2 separate regions of the Homo sapiens genome follow, and region 1 is linked to region 2. The links are contacts of gene promoters, found by promoter capture Hi-C in blood cells and fetal thymus (Javierre and others, 2016). All regions are on one chromosome and are shown on one strand. The core of a region is centred on a gene start or on the middle of the fragment in contact, and the rest is flanking DNA. Distances in the headings are between cores, read along the strand shown. Region 1 has its middle 84 kb from the start of TNIK. Region 2 holds the start of SLC2A2 (solute carrier family 2 member 2).

Region 1 (4,627 bases), core at 344-2,843, 520 kb after region 2:
CCCTCTTTCTCTCTTTCTTTTTCTTTCTTTCTTCAGAGTCTCATTCTGTTGCCCAGGCTGGACTGGTGTGGTCATAGGTCACTGCAGCCTGTAACTTTCGGACTCAAGCAATCCTCCCACTTTAGCCTCCCCAGTAGCTGGGATTATAGGTGCATGCCACCATGCCCAGCTAATTTTTTCATTTTTTGTAGATATAGAGTCTTACTATGTTCCCAGGCTGGTCTCAAGCTACTGGACTGAAGCAATCCTCCTGCCTTGGCCTCCCAAAGCACTGACATTACAGGCATGAGTTACAGAGCCCAGCCTATTAATTTTTTAAAAATATTTTTTTCTCCCTGTGCTTCATTTTGGGTAATTTTTGTTGTTGGGTCTTTATGTTCACTAATTTTTTATTTTATAGTATTAGTCTGCTGTTACTTTTATTCAGTGTATTTTTTATTTAGAATATATTTTCATATCTAGATGTTCCACTTGAGTCTGTTAAAAAATATCTTCCATTTCTCTTGTTGTTATATTCATGTTTTGCTTTACATTTTCAAGCACATGGCACATACCTCTAATAACTGGTTCAGGTCTTTTCTAATTCCATAATCTCTGTCATCTCTAATTTTGTTCATATTGATTGATTATTAGCCTGACTATGGGTCATATTTTTCTCTTCTTCTTGCCTGGTAACTTTTTACTAGGTGACAGCCATTGTAGATATAATTTTGTTTGTTTTTTGTTGTTGTTGTTTATGGGTGCCAGATTTTGTTGAATTCTTTTAATAAGTGTGGACCTTGTTCTGATAGGCAGTTAAGTTACTTGGAAACAGTTTAATTCTTTCAAGCCTTGTTTTTAAGCTTTTGTTAGGCTGGGTCCAGAGCTTTGTTAGGCTGGGTCCTGGCTTTGTTTTAGGGTTAATTTAGCTCAACTAGAAAATGCACTTTGAGGGCTCAGCCCAATTCCCTGTGTATTATGAGGCCTCTTTACTCTGACTGATGGAAAAGCGAACATTTCCCAGCCGTGTGTAAACTCCAAGAATTACTGAGCTTACTTCTTTCTGGCTTTTCTTTTTCCAGCGTCATAGTTTTACCCCACACATGCACAGGTCAGCAGCAGTCAAAGATTCGAAGGGGCCCTTCTGCAGAGCTCCACAGTGCTCTGTCTGTGTGTCTCCCTCATTTCTGGTCCTTTGCCCTGGCCTCCCTGAAACCTGATCTCCACCTCCTTACTCAATGAGACTGCTATACCTGTTTGGGTTTCCTTTTTCCTGCCCTGCAGCCTGGAAACTGCCTCCAGGAAGTAACTGGGGTAGTCATAAGGAGGGCTCACATCATATGCTTCCCCTCTCCCAGAGATTACAGTCCTGCTTTGCTTTCTGTCCAAAGACTGCAAACAGTTGTTTCATGTATTTTGTCCATTATTCTAATGGAATATGTCAAGGAGGTAATTCTGTCACAGCTATTCCTTCATGGGCAGAACAGAAATCTATTTCACATTTTTCAGGCATTTTCTACCACTTGTCTTCTTTTAGTGTCCTCAGCATAACTTTCAAAATAATTATATGAGATACGTGTGTGTATGTGTGTGTATATGTGCATCTGTATATATGAGTATGTGTGTAATTATCCTCACTGTCCAAAATCGTTGGTTCTCTGAGTTCAGATAGGGAGATTCTTGACAAGAGAGTTTGGATAGCAAGGGATGCCTTGTTATCTGAATCAATTTGGTTCTCGACGTTTAGCTAGTGAGTAGCAGAGTTGGAAGGGGGAGCAGAGAGGATTCTCAATCAGGGTCCCAGTCAGAAAGTAATGGTTAATTCAACGGGTTTAATGAAAAAGGGGTAAAAGAGAATGTTAGCTAGAGAGTGGTGGGCAAGATTAAGGGAACCAACAGGAACCCAAATACTAGCACCAATGGGAAGCAGTTAACATCCCTAGTCCTAAAGGGACAAAGAGAAGGAATGTTTTTCCCAAGGCCACCCAATAGGATCTGCGGCTGTAGAGGGGCTCGGCCCCTGCTGAGGTTGTGGCCAGGCTCTAAGGAAATGGATATCGGAGAGGCCTTCGTTGTGGTTCCCTAGAAGCAGACTCTGAAGCAAGGATTTGCGTGTAAGTGAATGATTGAGGAAGTGCTCTCTGGAGACACACATGAGAGAAACAGGGAACCAAGACAGGGAAAGAGGGAAAGCCTTGCAAATTACAGATTCAAGCAATGTCCCAGCACCAGCCCAACCCCAGAGGTTGCTCTGGCGTGAAATCATATATCAGAGTCATCACCCTTCAGAGTTTTTCCCACCTCAAGGCAAGGGAGCTGGTTTTCAACCTCTTACCTCAGTGGTTGGCTAATGTCCAGAGGTGACATAAGCTTCCAGACACCCCCCAGCTGTCTACCTGTACTGGGTGAAGTGGCTCTGTGGCCCAAAGTGGGCTTCTGAGGAAAGCTGCAGGTGTCAGCCAACAGAAACAAAGGACATAGAAACCAGGAAATGGATGCTCAAAAACAGGCATGTGGGTGTGGCACCAACAGTGTTTATCACAGTAGAGGAGGGAAATAGATACCCCAAACACGCTCACCATTGATCTCCCATTGGCCACGCCCAATTAGAAGCTGGAGGGCAAGGCAACCCAGGGGATGCTATCCTAGTTGTCAGCCTCTGGGGCTTAGAGTAGGCACTGGAGGGTGGAAAATGGATCTGGATGGAGAGCAAAGGGAGAATAAATAGGAGAGGACAGCATAGATCTAAAATTTTATACATATCTATTTGGTCCTTAAATTCAAAAAGTGATAGTCTGGAAAGCAAGAGATACTTGTATGTGTGTAATGTATCACACACATACAAGTCTAGTCTAATAAACGTAAACTAATGTTTATTAGACTAATAACCATAATATAATGGCATGGATTATACCCTCAATGTTACTTCTGTGACTGTAGAGCAACCTCTCTGGGTTAATTCCTTATTTATAAAATTTCAAAACACAACAACAAAAAAATGCATGTCTTCTATCTTCAGCAGGGAAGAGTTATGAAAAATAACATACTAAGTGGTTGAGATGAAAAGAACTACTTCTCAATCTTGCTTGACCCTTGGAAACATCTCACTATCTTTTGTGTGTTCAAATTCCAGGTACTGACAATACAGAAATAAAAACATATCCTGGTAGTGTCTTTAAGGAAATAGGATACTGAAAATAAATTGAACAAAATGTCTTTGACACTTGTGATCTTGAGAAATCCTGAATATTATCATTGTCTTCTGCTTTTTTGAAAATTTCACATTTATTTAATTTCTGCCCCTCTGATATTTGACATTAGCGCTCTGGAAAAATATCACCGTTGGTGAAAGCCAAGATTCCAAAGGCCCATGATGAGAGCAATAGTTTATACTGGGAGGAGATGGGCCAGGAAGATATTACCATCATATCTATGGCACTGCAGCCAAAGGCTGTGTTCTGAAAACTCTAGACGACATCATTTCCAATAGTGATATAACTTACTCAAGTCTTCTCTTGAGGCAAACAAACAAAAAACAAAAAAATAAAAAACAAAGATATACCTCAAATCTGGATCCTTTATAAATAGATTTCCATTATATGTGCTCATATGACTTACTTAGGCCCAATGCTATGGACTTATCAGAATCCCGCCTGCCCCATGCTCTGTCTCTTTCTCTCTCTCTCTCTCAATCTGTGTGTGTGTGTGTGTGTGTGTGTGTGTATGCCAGTAACAAAAACTTAACTCAGATTAGTGTGGGCATAAATGGGGATTTATTTGCTCCGTAACTCTACTGGAGAAGTGGCAGCAGAGCCAGTAGAGTTTGGGAGTGGACCTGGCTCTTTTCCCTCTGACTATTCCCTCTGCTTTCATTTTTATGTTGGTTTCATTCTCTCTGACAGGCTTTCTCCACTTGCAGGGAAGTGTAGTCTGGCTCCCATCTCTCCGCTTTACCAGGGGCCTAGGGCTCACCTTCTCTGGTGCCATGTTTTAAAATCCCAGAGAGGGGCTCAATTGTCCTGGCTTGAGTAAAAAAAATCTATGGCCACAGCGATAGGCAACTCTGATTGGGGTCTCTAGGTGAGGTGCTCATTCTTTGGCCAATGAATGGGGTCGGGCATGGGAAAGCAAGAAGACATCAGTTCCCTTTGAACCTTATAGTTAGAGTCAGAGGGAAGAGCAAAGAAGAGGCTGTTGTTCAGGTACACACTGCAAAGTGGATGTGACTACCTTTACTTTAAAGATGAGATAACCAAGTCCCAGAGAGGCCAAGGGACTCATTTAAAACTACAGAGGTAATAAGTGGCAAAGCCATGATTGATGAGAGGCGATATATTATAGAGATTAAAGGCTCACATTCTAGAACCAGATACACTTGAACCGAGATCCCAACTCTTGCCACTTATCAGTATAATTTGGGATAAATTATTTATCTGCCTCTGATTTCTCCCCCTAAATATAGGCATACTGATAGTATCTCTCTCCTAAGAGAGTTGTGAGGATTCAATGAGATAACGTACAGGCACAGTGTAATTGCTGCTTAAATATTTGCTGTAATTATTGGCTAGGATTTAAACTTTTTCAAAGCTGTACCTGTGTGTTTGTGAGTGTCGGGCCCAATAGCTTTGTTCTGTTCTCAGGCCCAATA
Region 2 (4,521 bases), core at 104-2,603:
ACTATTAATAATTATATAACTATTAACATTAAAATTGTTGTCTAAGCCTCTCTAATATAATCTCATTTAATTACTCCCTAACTCTAAAGTACTAGTATAATCCCTGAATATCCCATATTATATCACTGAGCCCAAGTTTCTTTGCCTATAAAGGGTATATTGTATCCTAATATGTTTTTGTTTTCTCACAATAGAGAAAACCCAAAGCTCAGTTAAATAACTTAACCCAGGCCTCACAGCAGTTTAGTGGCATTGCTAGAACCCAGATCCAAGTCTGGCTGACTCCAAAGCCAGTGCAGCTAACCATGCCATCTAATGACATGAAGGAATGTTCAGCAGAGTAAGTTGCACCAGATGAGAACTTAAAGGTGAGACCCTACAGGGCACAGATTGATCAACTTATATGATTGTGTGTACAGGGGTGGGTGAGTTTAGAAACCACGTATAAGGGAGCAAGGACACTATATCCTTTATATTTTTAAGTTTTTTTTTAAAGTATCATATCTAGAGAGAAGTTGAAACAGTAGTGAAGTGATCATTCCATAACCTTCGCCTTTATTCACCACTGGTTAACATTCACCAATTTGTTGATCTCTCGCTCTGTAGTGTTTGTGTGTGTGTGTTGTTTTGGCTGAACCATTTACAAATAAGCTGTAGATATTTGTGTCATTTCACCCCTAAATACTTTAGCATGTACAAAGAACAAAGACATCCTCCTACATAATTAGATACCATTATTATATCCAAGAGTGTGAAATTGATACAGTAATATTATTTAAGATGCAGCCCATATTTAAAATTTCCCAACGTCTCCATAGTTCCCTTATTGCTATTTTTTTCTTCCTTCCACAATCTAAATCATTTGTTGCATTTGGTTGTCAGTTTGTCTTAATCCCTTTTAATCTAGAGAACAACCCTTCTACCTCTTTTGTCTCTCCTGCATTGACGTTTTTGAAGATTCCCGATGAGTTTTCATGATTAAATTTAGGTCAATCTGCCCCCTTTTTTTTTTTTTTTTTTTTGGTTAGGAGGGGACATATTTCTTTAGTAATATGGTTATGCACAATTACTTGAAAAAACTTATGCAGACTAGTCAGTTAACAGAGCAAAAATCCTTAAAACCCCAATTACTGAATAAGAAACAGTTCTTCAATTGGCAAAGTAAAGAGAATTAATTTTGATCTGTGGTAGCTACACCCAACCTCCCCCAAATCCTCTGTATGACTTGACTGTATTCCCCTAACTATCTCCTGAAAACCAGACTTGAAATGAATATAATGCTGCTTTACCTTATCTTCTGTCATTGTACTAGTTGGGAGTCCTGTCAATTCCAGGTCTTGTGTGAGTGTGGCACATGCACCTGACTAGCTCCTGCCTGTTTATTCGCAGCTCTGCCTAGGCCTAGTTATGCATTGCAGGAGGAGGAGCAAGGAGAGGGAGGAGTTGGGCTACCCAGACCTGAGAGTCCAAGTCTAATCTTCTCAGCGGCAGCTGAATATTGATGGGAATCTAATCAATAAGTGCTTTGCCTCAGCAACCTGTGGCTTCAATACCTTTGTTCCACTAGGAAAGAAAATGGGAGCAGGTCCCTTAGGCATAAGTTACAAACCAGAGGCAATCACATTTCAAGGCATGTGTTATGTGGCAGTAATTGGGAGCTGGTGAAAAGAGAAATCTTTGGAGTCTTTTGTAGAAGATGAGATATGCTGAGCTGCCGTGCTGTGCTGTGGAGCATGGGAGGCACACTGCACTCTGCTCCACAGATAATTAGTGCTGTGGTGTTTCTGTTTAGAGCTGAGCTGTGTGGCCGGAGACCATTGTTGACTTGAATGGTTACCTGGATGAGCTTTGGATTGTTAGGGACTTGGGTTTGAATCTCAACATTTTACTGGGGAGTATAACCTTAAGCAAGTGGCTCACTGTGACTTTTCTCTGATTAGTTTTTTATTTTTGCCTGATAAAATAGAAATAACACACATTTTGTTTTGTTGAGTGGATTAAATGAGATAATATGTGAAAGTGTTTGGCATATCTCAACATATAATAAGTACTTAGCAAATAGCGGTTGTTATTATTATTGCTTCATATATGTCAAGAAGCACTTGCTGGAGGCTTTAACGTAGAGTTCTCAAATAAACCTGCTCATATGGCTTGATCTTGGGCCTAAGTATCCCTTATGATATCCAAACCCTGTGGGGGTTCAGGAGATATCAAATTTATTGAGCTTTAAGTGTGTGTGGCAACTGGGGCCACAGATTGCACTGAGGCTCAAATGGAACCAGTTCCCAGCGGAACAAAAATGTAACAAGCAGCAACACAATGAGGGGTGTTATGAAGAAACAGGGTGAGAAAATGAAGGATTAGAGGAGATTCAGATTTCACCTTTTTATTTTGCCACCCTGTTTTCATTTCTGTCACCTCTGCAAGGTGACACACCTGAAATGTTTGGTTTGAGAAGGTAATTCAATCAAACTACAAACTTTTACTGAGTCCAGCACAGTTCCATGCTCCGAGATGACTGAGATAAATAAGTCACAGCCTCCTCTTTCTAGGTGTTTATAACATATAAGATGAGACATATGTAATGCAGACACAATACAATAATTTCATAGTGGAAAAGCGTGAGCAAATATTAATAGTAATGATGGTTAATCTTTACTGAGGTCTTGCCGGGTGCCAGGTGCTGCTCTCAGCACTTGACATGGATTAACTCGTTTAGTCATAACATGAGGTGCTCTGTGTCATAGTGCCAAGCTTTGGGGAGCAGCTTTGAAGTCAGACTTTAAAGCGCCCAGTTAGCCACGCTGACTTTCCGCATCAGTTTTGGCTGGTGATGAGCACGCCCCATTGCCAGAGCGGTCCACAGTCAGGAGCGGTTCCATGGCATTTGCCAGTGACATGACATTCTGCAGGAAAGCGTCTCTGTGCCGCGTCGTAAATGATACCGGTGTGGTTTACCAACCTTTGTCTTTTGAACCTGCCTTTTCAGAAACGGAATTTGCCTTGAGTGCGCGGGCGGCCAGTGAGCCTTTAACTTCTTGTGCTCAGCCCCGGCCTGCCGGCGCGGAGCACGGCGGCAGGAAACCATTCTCTTCTCCCATTGGGAGCGCGACCCGCCATTCACTAGCGGGCCTTCGGGGCACCCTGATCAGTTTCCTCAGGTTCAGCCAAGGCCTCTGTGGTTCTGCTCTTTCTCAGAAATGAATGAGTAATCTCTGCACCATCTGGGATATGCTAAAACTTTATCTCCGTGCGGGGAGGGGGTGCGATTCATTTACATTGATGCTCTGATTGCTTTTGCCCGCGGAGAACTGATAAGCGATTCCAGCCTTTCAGGAGAGCGTGTCTTGGCGCCCACCGAGGAGCTGCAGGTCGTTGCACTCCTGGCTGTGGTGAAGTCAGTCTTTTCGCACTTTGCCATTGGAGTGGGCGCTATTCAATAACGTGCACCAGTGCCTGCAATCACCCGGAGATTTCCACTGGGCAGGGCGAAACCAGTTCTGTGTGGTTGTTCTTTAGGCTTCATACTTTTAAGCCCTCTAGGTCACATTCGGATTACTTCGCTGATTAATGTAATCTTGGTGGATGCCAGAAGTTCTAGGTGGTGACAGGACTGAAAAGAGTCCGCCCTCCCTCTCCCCTTTTTTCATTGTCATCCTTTCCTTCAGTAAAATTAGTTTTTTTTTCTTCTTCCATAAATGAGGAGGGGAGAGTGGAGAGATAAACCAGCTATTTCAGCATGCTGCATTCCTCTCCAGTTGGGTCAGATGTGGTTAAGTGCAAAGGCATCTCCTGGGAACAAATTAAATGAGGTCAAACTTGGCCAAGCCAGGAGTACAAGAGAATATCGGAAGGTCCCAGTCCCTGAAGGACAGTCAGTGTATTTTAAGATTTTTGAGCCAAATTTTTCCCCATTGTAGCTTGCCAAAAAAGAGGGCAAACTCTTTACATCCTCTTCTCGCCTCTCCACACCCTCTCCCTAGATATCTCTGTGGTCTGCATCTCTTCCACATGTCTTCACAGCCTCCTACCTGACTTCCCTGCTCCCATCTTACCCTGCAGTACCTTCTTGACACAGTAGTTAAGATATATTTTTAAAGTTAGATCATAATACACTCCTGCTTAAAAGTCTCCAAAGGCTTCCCAATCACCCTTAGCAAGAAACCCACGTTTCTCACCACAGCCCAAGAGGTTGACTTGACATAGGCCCTGGGTGGCTCTGAGACCTTCTCCCCTTCCGTGGGCCCAGCCACACTGGCCTCAGACTTGTCTAATATGTTCCATGTTCAGCACCTTTGTCCTCAATGAGCTTCTGCCTATAGCCCTTCTCCCTAGATTTGTATGTAGCTGGCTCCTTCTCTTCATTCAGATGACGGCTTAGTGAGGATTCCCTAACCAGGCTTCTTAAGATAGATACCACCTACTTTCTCCAACTCATCCCTGGGCCAGTTACTCTGCTTTATTTTCTTCTTAATGCTTATGCTTGAAATTTTATTATTTGCTTGTCTATTGTTGTTTGCC

Evidence for each region. The method cuts DNA at HindIII sites, captures the fragments that hold promoters and counts their contacts. A CHiCAGO score of 5 or more calls a contact.
Region 1: a fragment that was not itself captured here is called in contact with the fragment with the promoter of SLC2A2 in region 2 in 1 of 17 cell types (endothelial precursors); the score reaches 8.0 in endothelial precursors.

What each region holds. Positions count from the first base shown.
Region 1 is chr3:171,541,971-171,546,597 of GRCh38, forward strand. No RefSeq gene overlaps it. Among named protein-coding and RNA genes, the nearest start is that of TNIK, 84 kb to the left of the region's middle. The HindIII fragment of the contact is 1,507 bases long and covers 841-2,347 here.
Region 2 is chr3:171,025,367-171,029,887 of GRCh38, forward strand. SLC2A2 (solute carrier family 2 member 2) reads right to left here and starts at 1,354. Exons shown (of 11, transcript NM_000340.2): 1 at 1,290-1,354. The coding sequence starts at 1,304. The HindIII fragment of the contact is 3,598 bases long and covers 1-2,752 here.